Linked DNA regions of Homo sapiens: region 2 is linked to region 1. Evidence: promoter capture Hi-C in 16 types of primary human blood cells and fetal thymus (Javierre and others, 2016). All regions are on one chromosome and are shown on one strand. The core of a region is centred on a gene start or on the middle of the fragment in contact, and the rest is flanking DNA. Distances in the headings are between cores, read along the strand shown. Region 1 holds the start of C22orf31 (chromosome 22 open reading frame 31). Region 2 overlaps EMID1 (EMI domain containing 1).

What was found. The method cuts DNA at HindIII sites, captures the fragments that hold promoters and counts their contacts. A CHiCAGO score of 5 or more calls a contact.
Region 2: a fragment that was not itself captured here is called in contact with the fragment with the promoter of C22orf31 in region 1 in 1 of 17 cell types (megakaryocytes); the score reaches 5.1 in megakaryocytes.

Annotation. Positions count from the first base shown.
Region 1 is chr22:29,059,464-29,065,279 of GRCh38, forward strand. It overlaps C22orf31 (chromosome 22 open reading frame 31), which reads right to left and starts at 2,368. Exons shown (of 3, transcript NM_015370.2): 1 at 2,327-2,368; 2 at 952-1,380. The coding sequence starts at 2,329. RefSeq lists an enhancer at 2,738-3,505. The HindIII fragment of the contact is 5,266 bases long and covers 1,148-5,816 here.
Region 2 is chr22:29,233,646-29,239,461 of GRCh38, forward strand. It overlaps EMID1 (EMI domain containing 1), which reads left to right. Exons shown (of 15, transcript NM_133455.4): 10 at 1-21; 11 at 492-554; 12 at 660-704. Among named protein-coding and RNA genes, the nearest start is that of EMID1, 31 kb to the left of the region's middle. RefSeq lists enhancers at 1-500, 501-1,001. The HindIII fragment of the contact is 1,718 bases long and covers 399-2,116 here.

The DNA of each region.
Region 1 (5,816 bases), core at 1,118-3,617:
CGCAAGATCCTAATTATTTACCCTCTGCCAGGCTCTGTTCAAAAGCCTTTTGCATGTATTATTTAACATTCATGAAGCCCTATGAGGGAAGGGCCGTTATCCCCCATTTAATATGATAATATCAAGGCACAAAGAAATTAAGCCCGAGGTCGTCCTCAATTACAGTCCGAGTTGGGATTTGAACCCTGATGGCCTGCTGGCCACCACGGGGTAACATACCTGGATTCCAATCAGGCCTTCGTAGGCCAAGTTCTCCATGTGGACGCTCACAATCCAGATCCATAGCTGACCACTGGTTGTGTGTGTGTGTGTGTGTGTGCACAAGCATGCACTACCCATATCCTAGCCTTCCTTCTCACCCTTATTTTTCCTTCATGTCAAGTCTGTGCTTATGAAAGCCACCTCATCCTTCTCTAGAACTAAGCATAGTGTAAATGATAAATAGCATGACCCCAAAATCTGGGGCATTCTTCCACTCTGTCATGCTACACCTCCTCCCCACATTCTGTCTTCAACTTTAGGATTTCCTTCACTTGGTATAGATCTTTTTTTCTTTTCTTTTTTTTTTTTTTTTTTTTTTATTTTTTAGACAGGGTCTTGCTCTGTTGCCCAATCAGGAATGCAGTAGTGCAATCATGGCTCACTGCAGCCTCAACCTCCTGGGTTCAAGTAATCCTCCCTCCTTAGCCTCCCAAGTAGCTGGGATCACAGGCATGTGCATCATGCCTGGCTTTTTTTTTTTTTTTTTAGTAGAGATGAGGTCTCCCTATGTTGCCCAGGCTGGTCTTGAACTCTCTGAGCTCAAGTGATCCTCCCTGCTTGGCCTCCCAAAGTGCTGAGATTATAGGCGGTAGCCGCACGCCATATAATCTCAACCGTTAAGTGTTCTCTGGCTTTACCTTTTCCCTCCCCTCGCCAGTCACATTTTCCCCACCACTGGTCCTCGTCTACCTCTCTGATGCCTCCTGCAGGCCTCCTATGCCCTGCTGGCTGCTTGCTCTTGGAACTGATGAAGTTTCTTTTCCTGGCCTGCTGGGTGGCTTTCATCACTGAATCGTCCTTGTGCTTTAATCTCTTCGAGAGTTTTCCTTCTCCAAACTTGCATGGTGGTGGGCAGCACTTATTCTTCAGTTGCCGCCTGAGTACAAGCTTAACCAGGGAGAAGGAACTGGCAATTAATGGGTTCCTTACAACTTCCCAAGAGGAAGTGGTAGCTGGTGCTGGGGCATTAATGTTCTGCTTTGCACATGTTCTGGCCATCCAGATGTTGGTGAGAGCCGGTGAGTCCACATAGCAGTCCTGAAGCCTGGTATTTAATAAGATGGACTGTCGGAGTCCATAGATAGGGATGCTGGGGTCTCGTCTCACATTGATTGGGTGCTAGAATTATAAGGAGGGAGAAATGAATTTTAAAAGGACCGTTCTTCAGCAGAGAATAAAAGGTCTACTTTGAAGGCAAAATATTAACATCTTTTTATAGGCCATTCCTTCCACCCAGTTCTTAGAAATTTACTATATGTCCTCTCCTGTTCACCAAAGCCTTTTATACCAAGTAGGGAGGAGATAGTCACTCCACAAGGTTACAGTAATATTCAGGCTCTCAAAGAACATAGCATGCCAGGGCAGGAAGTCGGGGGTCAGGGAGGGTTCACAAGGAATTGAAGACAATTCCTGCCTGCTGGAAAGATACGGACGGCAGGGTCACTCAAGACTTCCATATGAGCTGTAGACACTCAACCATGCTGCAACACAGACATGACAGCCGGTAAGTTCTGCCAAGCCCTGAATACGCTTTACACTTTCTTTTTTTGTGTGTGGGGGGGACGGAGTTTAGCTCTTGTTGCCCAGGCTGGAGTGCAATGGCGTGATCTTGGCTCACTGCAACCTCCGCCTCCCGGGCTCAAGGGATTCTTCTGCCTCAGCCTCCGAAGTAGTTGAGATTACAGGCATGCACCACCGCACCCAGCTGATGTTGTATTTTTAGTAGAGACAGGGTTTCTCCATGTTGGTCAGGCTGGCCTCGAACTCCCCACCTCAGATGATCCGCCCGCCTCAGCCTCCCAAAGTGCTGGGATTACCAGCATGAGCCACCATGTTCGGCTGAATACACTTTCTAACCAACTGCCATGCACCAAGAAGAGCTCATTCACAGGGAAATCAATATACTCTGGGGACCATAAAAGCAACACGAAAACATTAATGCTGCCGGCCTCCATTTCCTGGGACCAACTAAGAGCAACAGAACAATTTGGATAGATTAGAATCACATATTTAAAGAGATCTGGCTTTCTAAGAAATGTCATCTATAGAAATAAAATCACCTTACCATATTTCAGTTGCCTTAAATTTTATTTTCGCTAGCTTAGTAAGGGGAAGAAATATGTATTTTCTCTTTCCTTTTTCTCTCTCTCTCTTTTTTTTTGTTTTTGTTTTAATATTTCTAGTCACCTGTCTTTCTCTGCCTTAGTCACATATGGGCAAATTGCTGTTTGTTTAGATGTGGGCTCAATGCAGGCAGCTTTGAGCCATTATCTCTAGTATTTGTGATGTCACTTTGGTTTGTGATGTGGGTGTGGGTGGGTGTTACATCATCAGATTTTATAGTTAAATTATGTGGGAAGAAGTTCTATACGGTTTTGCTTCTAGCCTCAGAAACTTCTGAAGTCCTCATTTCCCCCAAAATGGCTTGGATGAATTTTGAAGATCTTCATGTTCTTAAGAAGTATGTTTTGCAGGAAATGTAGTCAAATATGCAGACCAGATTTGGGGATATGGGTAGTGAGATGCATCCCTACATGTGCAAAAGTGCCCTCCTTCATGTACATAAAGGAGGCACTGTTAAGTTCTCAGAACAGCTGCCAAGGTTAGGGACCAGGAATGAAAGAACACGTTCCTGCAGACCTGGGCACCTTTCCCTGCATGTCTCTCCCGGGAAGACTACATGGTTTCTGGAATGTGGGTTTCTTTTACATCCCATGGCAAATGCAGTAATTAGAGCTGTTAGCAGTGTCAAGGGCTTGAAAGGAGAACAAAGCCGCCTCTTCCTGGGAACTCTTGGGCAATGCCTCACTGCTTATCAGGTGCTCGTCCTGTTGGTGGGTTTGATTCTTTTATTTGTAAAATGCCTCAGGAGCCTCCCTCCTGAGGGGGAGGCCAGTGAAATGATGGAAAAACAGAGTATGAATCTGGCAGGGGCTCCTGGAATCGCATGTGTTGCCTGCTTGCGTTTTTAAGTGTTGTCCCTGGAGTGAATCAGAGCCTGCAGGCGGACCGCACCACAGGCTGTGGTGGAACCACCTCCAGGCCTATGGCAGCTGGACCCACAGACAGTTGAGAGGACAATTGCTCCCTTTCAGTGGCGAGCCCTGGCCTCACCTCCTAAGAGCTGGGTCGATTTTAGAGCAGGGCTTTGGAAAGGGTTTGTCTTTGGGAAGAGTTTGCGAATGTCTGGAGACTGGGCAGGCAAGAGTCTTTTCAAAGCTGGTCAGTCTTGGAAAAATGGCACCGGGCTCCTGGGCTACCTGGAAATTACCATCTGTCTTTACTCTGCAAAGCAGGGACAGGAGGGAAATGTCAAGCAAAAAAAGGCATAATAGGAGTAGGTCATCTGTTTCTCTTTTCTCCTTCTCCATCTTGAGTTTGGCTTTCCTGCACCTCATCTTTCCACACACTCATCCGTTAGATTTACTCTGCTAGGTCTTTTACTCAATGACTCTGCTTGGTCTTTTACTCACTCTGTCCCCCAGGCTGGAGTGCAGTGGTGCGATCTCGGCTCACTGCAACCTCCGCTTCCTGGGGTTCAAGCAATTCTCGTGCATCAGCCACCCAAGACGCTGGGATTACAGGCGCGGACCACCAAGCCCAGCTAATTTTTGTATTTTTAGTAGAGATGAGTTTTCACCATGTTGGCCCAGCTGGTCTCAAACTCCTGGCCTCAAGTGATCCACCCACCTTGGCCTCCCAAAGTGCTGGGATTACAGGCGTGAGCCTGTGCTCAGCCTCAATCTCCTTCTTCCAGCAGAGAGCTGTTCACATGGGCAGCACTTGATACATACTCTTCAAGTTCTATCAAATTCTGCCTTCTCTGCCTTCATTGTAACTCACTTCAATTGACTATGCCACAACAGGTAACCCTCAGCCTTCCTTAGAACTAACCCAGGGTACTTTGTTCTAAGCTATTTCTCCTATGTCAATAAAACTAATATTTATTGAATGCTTCCTGAAGGCCAGGCACTGTTCTAGCCACTTTATTAGCATCATGTCATGAAATGCTACCAACCATCCTATGAGTTTGAGCACTGTTCCCTGTTTTACAGATAAAGAAACTGAGGCACAAGTTGCTCAAGTATCATGCCTCAAGTAACCAACAAAGGCTGAACCCAACCAAAGTCTATACTGCCCTTGTTTTTGTTTTTGTTTTTGAGACGGAGTTTCACTCTTGTCACCCAGGCTGGAGTGCAGTGGCACGATCTTGGCTCACTGCAACCCCCACCTCCCAGGTTCAAGGGATTCTCCTGCCTCAGCCTCCCAAGTAGCTGGGATTATAGGCACGCACTATCATGCCGGGCTAATTTTTGTATTTTTAGTAGAGATGGGGTTTCACCATGTTGGCCAGGCTAGTCTCAAACTCTTGACCTCAGGTGATCCACCTGCCTTGGCCTCCCAAAGTGCTAGGAATACAGGTGTGAATCACCACACCCAGCCCTACTGCCCCTGTTCTTAAACACTCACAGTTATCACCGTGATGCCTGGCCTCTCTGTTGGTCAGCCCATCCATCTACCATACCCGGGCCCAGTTCTAGTCCTGTCCTTGTCATGAGACTTTCTCTAGGCCCAGGAGGGAATCTGCCTGTGATGGCATCCCAGATCCATCTTTCATTAGGCAAGTGAATTCATACCCCTGAACCTTAATTTCCTCAGCTGTGAAATGGGCCTAGTCATACTGCCTACCTAAGGGTTATTGTGAGTTTGAAGTGGGACAATGCATCTGAAATACTTGGCATGGCTCCTGGTGTATATAGTAAGCACTCAATGAATATTTGCTTTTTTGTGTTTTTGTTTTTGTTTCAAGACAGGGTCTCAGTCTGTCACCCAGGCTGGAGTGCAGTGGTGTGATCACGGCTCATGAGAGCCTCGACCTCCTGGGCTCAAGCAATCCTCCCACTTTGGCCTCCCAAGTAGCTGGGATCACAGGCTTGTTTTTGCCCAGTGATTTTTTTTTTTTTTTTTTTTTTTTTTTTTTTTTTTTTTTTTTTTTTGTAGAGATGAGGTCTCCCTGTGTTGCTCAGCTTAGTCTGGAACTCCTGGTCTCAAGTGATCCTCCTTGGCCTCCCGAAGTGCTGGGACTACAGCTGTGAACCAACACACCTAACCCATGTGAAAGTTATTTTTTACTTATTTATTTTTTTGAGATGGAGTCCCAATCTGTCACCCAGGCTGAAGTGCAATGGCACATTCTCAGCTCACTGCAACCTCCGCCTCCTGGGTTCAAGCAATTCTCCTGCCTCAGCCTCCCGAGTAGCTGAGATTACAGGTGTGCACCACCACGCCCGGCTAATTTTTGTATTTTTAGCAGAGATGGGGGTTTCACCATGTTGGCCAGGCTGGTCTCGAACTCCTGACCTCGTGATCTACCAGCCTTCACCTCCCAAAGTGCTGGGATTTCAGGCGTGAGCCACTGCGCCTGACCATGTGAATGTTATTAATATTATGGTCCATTTACTCATCTGACCCTTTCTTGAGCTCCTGTTGCTCATGGTCTAAGTGATGTAATGCAACATTTGATATGATCTTTGTCTCAGGTCATTCATGTACAT
Region 2 (5,816 bases), core at 8-2,507, 170 kb after region 1:
CCTGGGAGTCCTGGTCACATAGTGAGTAGTTCTCCTTGTACTCTCACCCATGTGTCTGTCCATCTTTCCATCTATGCATACATCCATACATCTGTCCATCATCCACCCTTGTATCCATCTATCCATCCATCCATTCATCCTTCCATTCATTCATTCAACAAGTATTTATTGAGCACTTAATATGCAAACTACCTTCCATAAATCTTATTCAATCCAAGTAATGAGAACCATGTGTGGTTATCACCTAAGACCAAGAAAAGTAGAGATTCTTGTGCCAGCACATGGCAATGAGCTGTGGTGGGACTGTCTGACTCCAGGATCAGATCTTTTAACACTGAGCTGTATGAACTGACTGCGGTGTGCTGGGTGTATGGTGAAGAACCCAGAGGCCCAGACCAAGCTTGAGCGCCCTCCCCAACACCTCTGTTCCCAAGCCCCTGCCCACTCCATCCTGCCCCAACACAAGGCTGAGGCCCTGTCTTGTTGCTCAGGGACCCCCAGGCCCCACTGGACCCAAAGGAATCTCTGGCCACCCAGGAGAGAAGGGCGAGAGAGTGAGTACCCAGGTGGCCCCAGGTGGGGGAATTCTGGGGAGTCCTGAGGGCCCCAGGTCAGAGTCCTCAACAGCTGACGCCATTCGTCTCCTCCCTCTTACACAGGGACTGCGTGGGGAGCCTGGCCCCCAAGGCTCTGCTGGGCAGCGGGTAAGTGTTGCTGTCTGTCCCGCATTCATCCCTGCAGGATCCCTTAGTCCCAGATTCCTCCTGTGACTCCATCCCCTGCAACCAGAGCTTCTAACCCTCCCTGTCTTGTCATTTATTTTCAGATGCTCCCTGTCTCTGAGACTCATTGTCCTCTTTGGATTAGGCTGCCTCTGTCTCTCTCACTCTGGCTCTCTGTTTCTCTGTATCTCTCTCTTTCCCTCTGTACGTCTGTCTCTTTGACTCTGTATTTCATTTACACTCTATCTCTCCAATTCTGATTGTAGATCTGTTCATTTCTCTCTTTAATTTGGTGAATTTTGCTTTACGTATTTTGAGTCTTTGTTATTAGGTGCATTCACATTTAGTATTTTAATGTCTCCTTGGTCATTTTATCTTTATGAAATTAATATCTTTATCTCTGATAATACTTGCCTTGAATCGACTTTGTGTGCTTTTAATAGCACACCAGCTTTCTTATGCTTGCTATTTGCATGTTATATCTTTTTTTATCCTTTTTTTTTTCAACCTGTAACTTTATATTTAAAGTGCATCATGGCTGGGTGTGGTGGCTCACACCTGTAATCCCAGCACTGTGGGAGGCCGAGGAAGGTGGATCGTTTGAGCTCAGGAGTTCAAGACCAGCTTGGGCAACATGACAAAACTCTGTCTTTATATAAAAATATGTATATAAATTTTATTAAATGTAAGAAAGTGTGGACCGGGCACGGTGGCTTACGCCTGTAATCCTAGCACTTTGGGGGGCTGAGACGGGTGGATCACCTGAGGTCAGAAGTTCAAGACCAGCCTGGTCAACATGGTGAAACCCCGTCTCTACTAAATATACAAAAATTAGCCAGGCATGGTGGTAGGCACCTGTAATCCCAGCTACTCGGGAGGCTGAGGCAGAAGAATTGCTTGAACCCAGGAGGCAGAGGTTGCAGTGAGCTGAGATCACACCATTGTGCTCCAGCCTGGGCAATAAGAGTGAGACTTCATCTCAAAAAAAAAAAAAAAAAAAAGTGCATCATATGACTTGGGTCTTGCTGTTTAAAAACAGTTTGACTGTTTAGTTAATTTATATTTAATGATATGTATAATTGATTAATATGGTTCTGTTTAGCCATCTTGCTGTTTATGTTCTATTTATTCCTTCTGTTTTGTGTTTCTTTTTTCCCTTTTCTTTTCTTGTCTTCTTTTGGATTGAGTACTTTTTATGATTTCTTTTTTCTTTTTTAGAGACAGGGTTTCCCTATGTGCCTAGGCTGAACTCAAACTCCTGGGCACATAGTGAATGAAGTGTCTTAAGTGATCTTCTTGCCTCAGCCTCCCAAGTATCTGGGACTACAGGTGTGCACCATTGTGCCTGACTTAAAATCTTCTCTTTCTAAAATTAATTTTCTTTCTAGAATTAAAGCTTTCTAGAATTTAAGCTTTTTTTTTTTTTTTTTTTTTTTTTTTGATACAGGGTCTTTCTCTGTCACCCAGGTTGGAGTGCAGTGGTGCAATCATAGCTCACTGTAGCCCCAACCTCCCTGGCTCAGGCAATCCTCACACCTCAGCCTCCTGAGTAGCTGGGACCACAGGCATGTACCACCATGCCCAGTTAACTTCTATTCCTTTACATTTAATCTGTTTTGTGGTTATATTTAAAGTCAGTTTCTTATAGAAAACCTACGGTTAGGTCTTATTTTTTGGTCCATTCTAACAATCCTCATCTTTTATTTGCTGCATTTAGGCCATTGACATTTAAAGTGATTATTGAGGCCCAGCATAGTGGCCCACACCTGTAATTCCAGCACTTCAGGAGGCCAAGGCAGGAGGATCACTTGAAATCAGGAGTTTGAGACTAGAGTGGGCAACAAAATGAGACCCTTTTTCTATAAAACAAATTTAAAAATTGGCTGGACGTGGTAGTGTGCACCTGTAGATTCAGCTACCTGAGAGGCTGAGCTGGGAGGATTGCTTGAGCCCAGGAGTTTAAGGTGACAGTTATAATTGCTTTACTGCATTCCAGCCTGAGTGACAGAACCAGACCTTGCCTCTAAAACATAACTAAATAGTCTGTGCACGGTGGCTCACACCTGTAATCCTGGCACTTTGGGAGGTGGAGGCAGGGGGATCACCTGAGGTCAGGAGTTTGAGACCAGCCTGGCCAACATGGTGAAACCCCGTCTCTACTAAAAACACAAAAATTAGCCAGGTATGGTGGCGCACTCCTGTAATCCCAGCTACTCAGGAGGCTGAGGCAGGAGAATTGCTTGAACCTGGGAGGCGGAGGTTGCAGTGGGCCAAGATTGTGCCACTGCACTCCAGCCTGGGCGACAGAGTGAGACTCCATCTCAAAAAAATAAGTCAATCAGTAAAATAAAAAATAACTAAATAAATGAAGTGTTATTTATATAGTTGGGTTAACAGCTACCATATTACTATTTTCTTTCTTTTTTTTCTTTTTTTTTTTATTTTTTGAGGCAGAGTCTTGCTCTGTCGCCCAGGCTGGAGTCTAGTGGCTGGATCTCGGCTCACTACAAGCTCCGCCTCCCGGGATCAAGCAATTCTCCTGCCTCAGCCTCCCAAGTAGCTGGGACTACAGGCGCCCACCACCATACCTGGCTAATTTTTGTATTTTTAGTAGAGATGGGGTTTCACCATCTTGGCCAGACTGGTCTTGAACTTCTAACTTTGTGATCTACCGGCCTTGGCCTCCCAAAGTGCTGGAATTACGGGTGTGAGCCACCTCGCCCAGCTACTATTTTCTATTTGTTTTCCTTGTTCTTTGTTCCTATTTTTGTCTGCCAGACTTTTTCTGCCTTTTTTTGGCTTTATTTATTTATTTACTTACTTATTTTCTTTTGAGAGAGAGTCTTGCTCTGTCACCCAGGCTGTAGTGCAGTGGTGTGATCTCTGCTACTGCAACCTCTGCCTCTTGGGTTCAAGCAATTCTCTGCCTCAGCCTCCTGAATAGCTGGGACTACAGGCACCTGCCACCCTGCCTGGCTAATTTTTATATTTTTAGTAGAGACAGGGTTTCACCATGTTGGCCAGACTGGTCTCAAACTCCTGACCTCAGGTGATCCACCCACCTCAGCCTCCCAGAGTGCTGGGGTTACAGGTGTGAGCCACCATGCCCGGCCATGCTCCTCCTTTCTTTATGTAAAATCTGAGTTTCTGGCCAGGCACGGTGGCTCACGCCTATAATCCCAGCACTTTGGGAGGCCGAGGTGGGCAGATCATGAGGTCAGGAGATGGAGACCATCCTGGTGAACACGGTGAAACCCCGTCTCTACTAAAAATACAAAAAAAATGTAGCTGGGCGTGCTGGCAGGTGCCTGTAGTCCCAGCTACTTGGGAGGCTGAGGCAGGAGAATGGCATGAACCTGGGGGATGGAGCTTGCAGTGAGTGGAGATCGCGCCACTGCACTGCAGCCTGGGCAACAGAGCGAGACTCCGTTTCAAAAAAAACAAACAAAAAAAATCTGAGTTTCTGACACATAATTTTTGTCCTCTCTGAAGAACTACCTTTATTTTTTCCCAGTTGGCTTTATTTGTGATTCTAGAATCGGGCAACACTTCATTCCATAAAATAAAATAAGTGCTCCGCTGAAGAACTTCTTTTAATGTTTCCTACAAGGCAGATCTACTGACAAAAATTCCCTCACTGTTTGTTTGTCTGAAAGTCTTCATTTCCCTTTCATGCATGAAGGATAATTTTTCAGGGTAAAGAATTCTAGGTTGATGTGTTTTTTTCCTCTCAATACTTGGTATATTACTCTCCACTCTCTTGCTTGCATGGTTTCTGCAGAGTTGGTTGTAATTATTATTGTTGCTCCTCTGCAGGAAAGATATTTTTTCCCTCTGTTTTCTTTTCAGTATTTTTTTATCTTTGATTCTCTGAAGTTTTTCTAAAAATTATTATTATTATTATTATTATTATTATTATTATTATTATTATTATTAGAGATAAGGTCATACTCTGTCACCTCAGAAGCCTTGAGGCTTCTGGGCTCAAGGGATCCTCCCGCCTCCACCTCTCGAGTAGCTGGGACTACTGTCATGTGCCACACCTGGCTAATTTTTTTTTCTGTTTTGAGATGAAATCTCACTCTTGTCCCCAAGGCTGGAGTGCAATGGTGTGATCTTGGCTCACTGCAACCTCCGCTTCCTGGGTTCAAGCGATTCTCCTGCCTCAGCCTCCCAAATAGCTGGGATTACAGGCACCTGCCATCACGCCCGGCTAATTTTTTGTATTTTTAGTAGAGACAGGGTTTCACCATGTTGGCCAGGCTGGTCTCAAACTTCTGACCTCAGGTGATCCGCCCGCCTCGGCCTCCCAAAGTGGTGGGATTACAGGCGTGAGCCACCGTGCCCGGCCATTTTTTTTTTTTTTTTTTTTAATTTTAGAAGCAAGATCTCACTATGTTGCCCAGGCTGGTCTTTCTGACCTCTAGTGATCCTCTTGCCTTGGCCTCCCAAAGTGCTGGGATTACAGGTGTGAGCCACTGCACCCAGCCTGATTTTCTGAAATTTGGATATGATATGCCTACTTGTCATTTCTTGGCATTTATCCTATATGGTATTCCCTTATCTTCCTAGATCTGTGGTTTGGTGTCTGACATTTTTGGGGGGAAAATTCTGTCATTATTACTTCAAATATTGCTTGTGTTTCTTTCTCTTTTTTCCTTCTGGTATTCTATTATGCATATTTACATCTTTTGTAATTGTCCCACAATTCTTGGATATTCTGTTCTATTCTTTCAGCCTTTTTTCTCTTTGCATTTCAGTTTTGAAAGTTTCCATTGTCATATCATCAGGCTTAGAGATTCTTTCCTCAGCCATGTCCAGTCCACGAATAAGCCCATCAATGGCATTCTTTATTTCTGTTACAGTGCTTTTTATATCTACCACTTATTTTTAATTATTTCTTAGAATATCTTTTTTTTCTTTTAAAAAAAATTTTTTTTTAATGTAGAGGCAGGGTTTTACCATGTTACCCAGGCTGGTCTCAAACTCCTGAGTTTAAGCAGTCTACCCACCTCAGCCTCCCAAAGTGTTGGGATTACAGGCATGAGCCACCACGCCCAGGCCTTTCTTAGAATTTCCATCTCTCTGCTTATA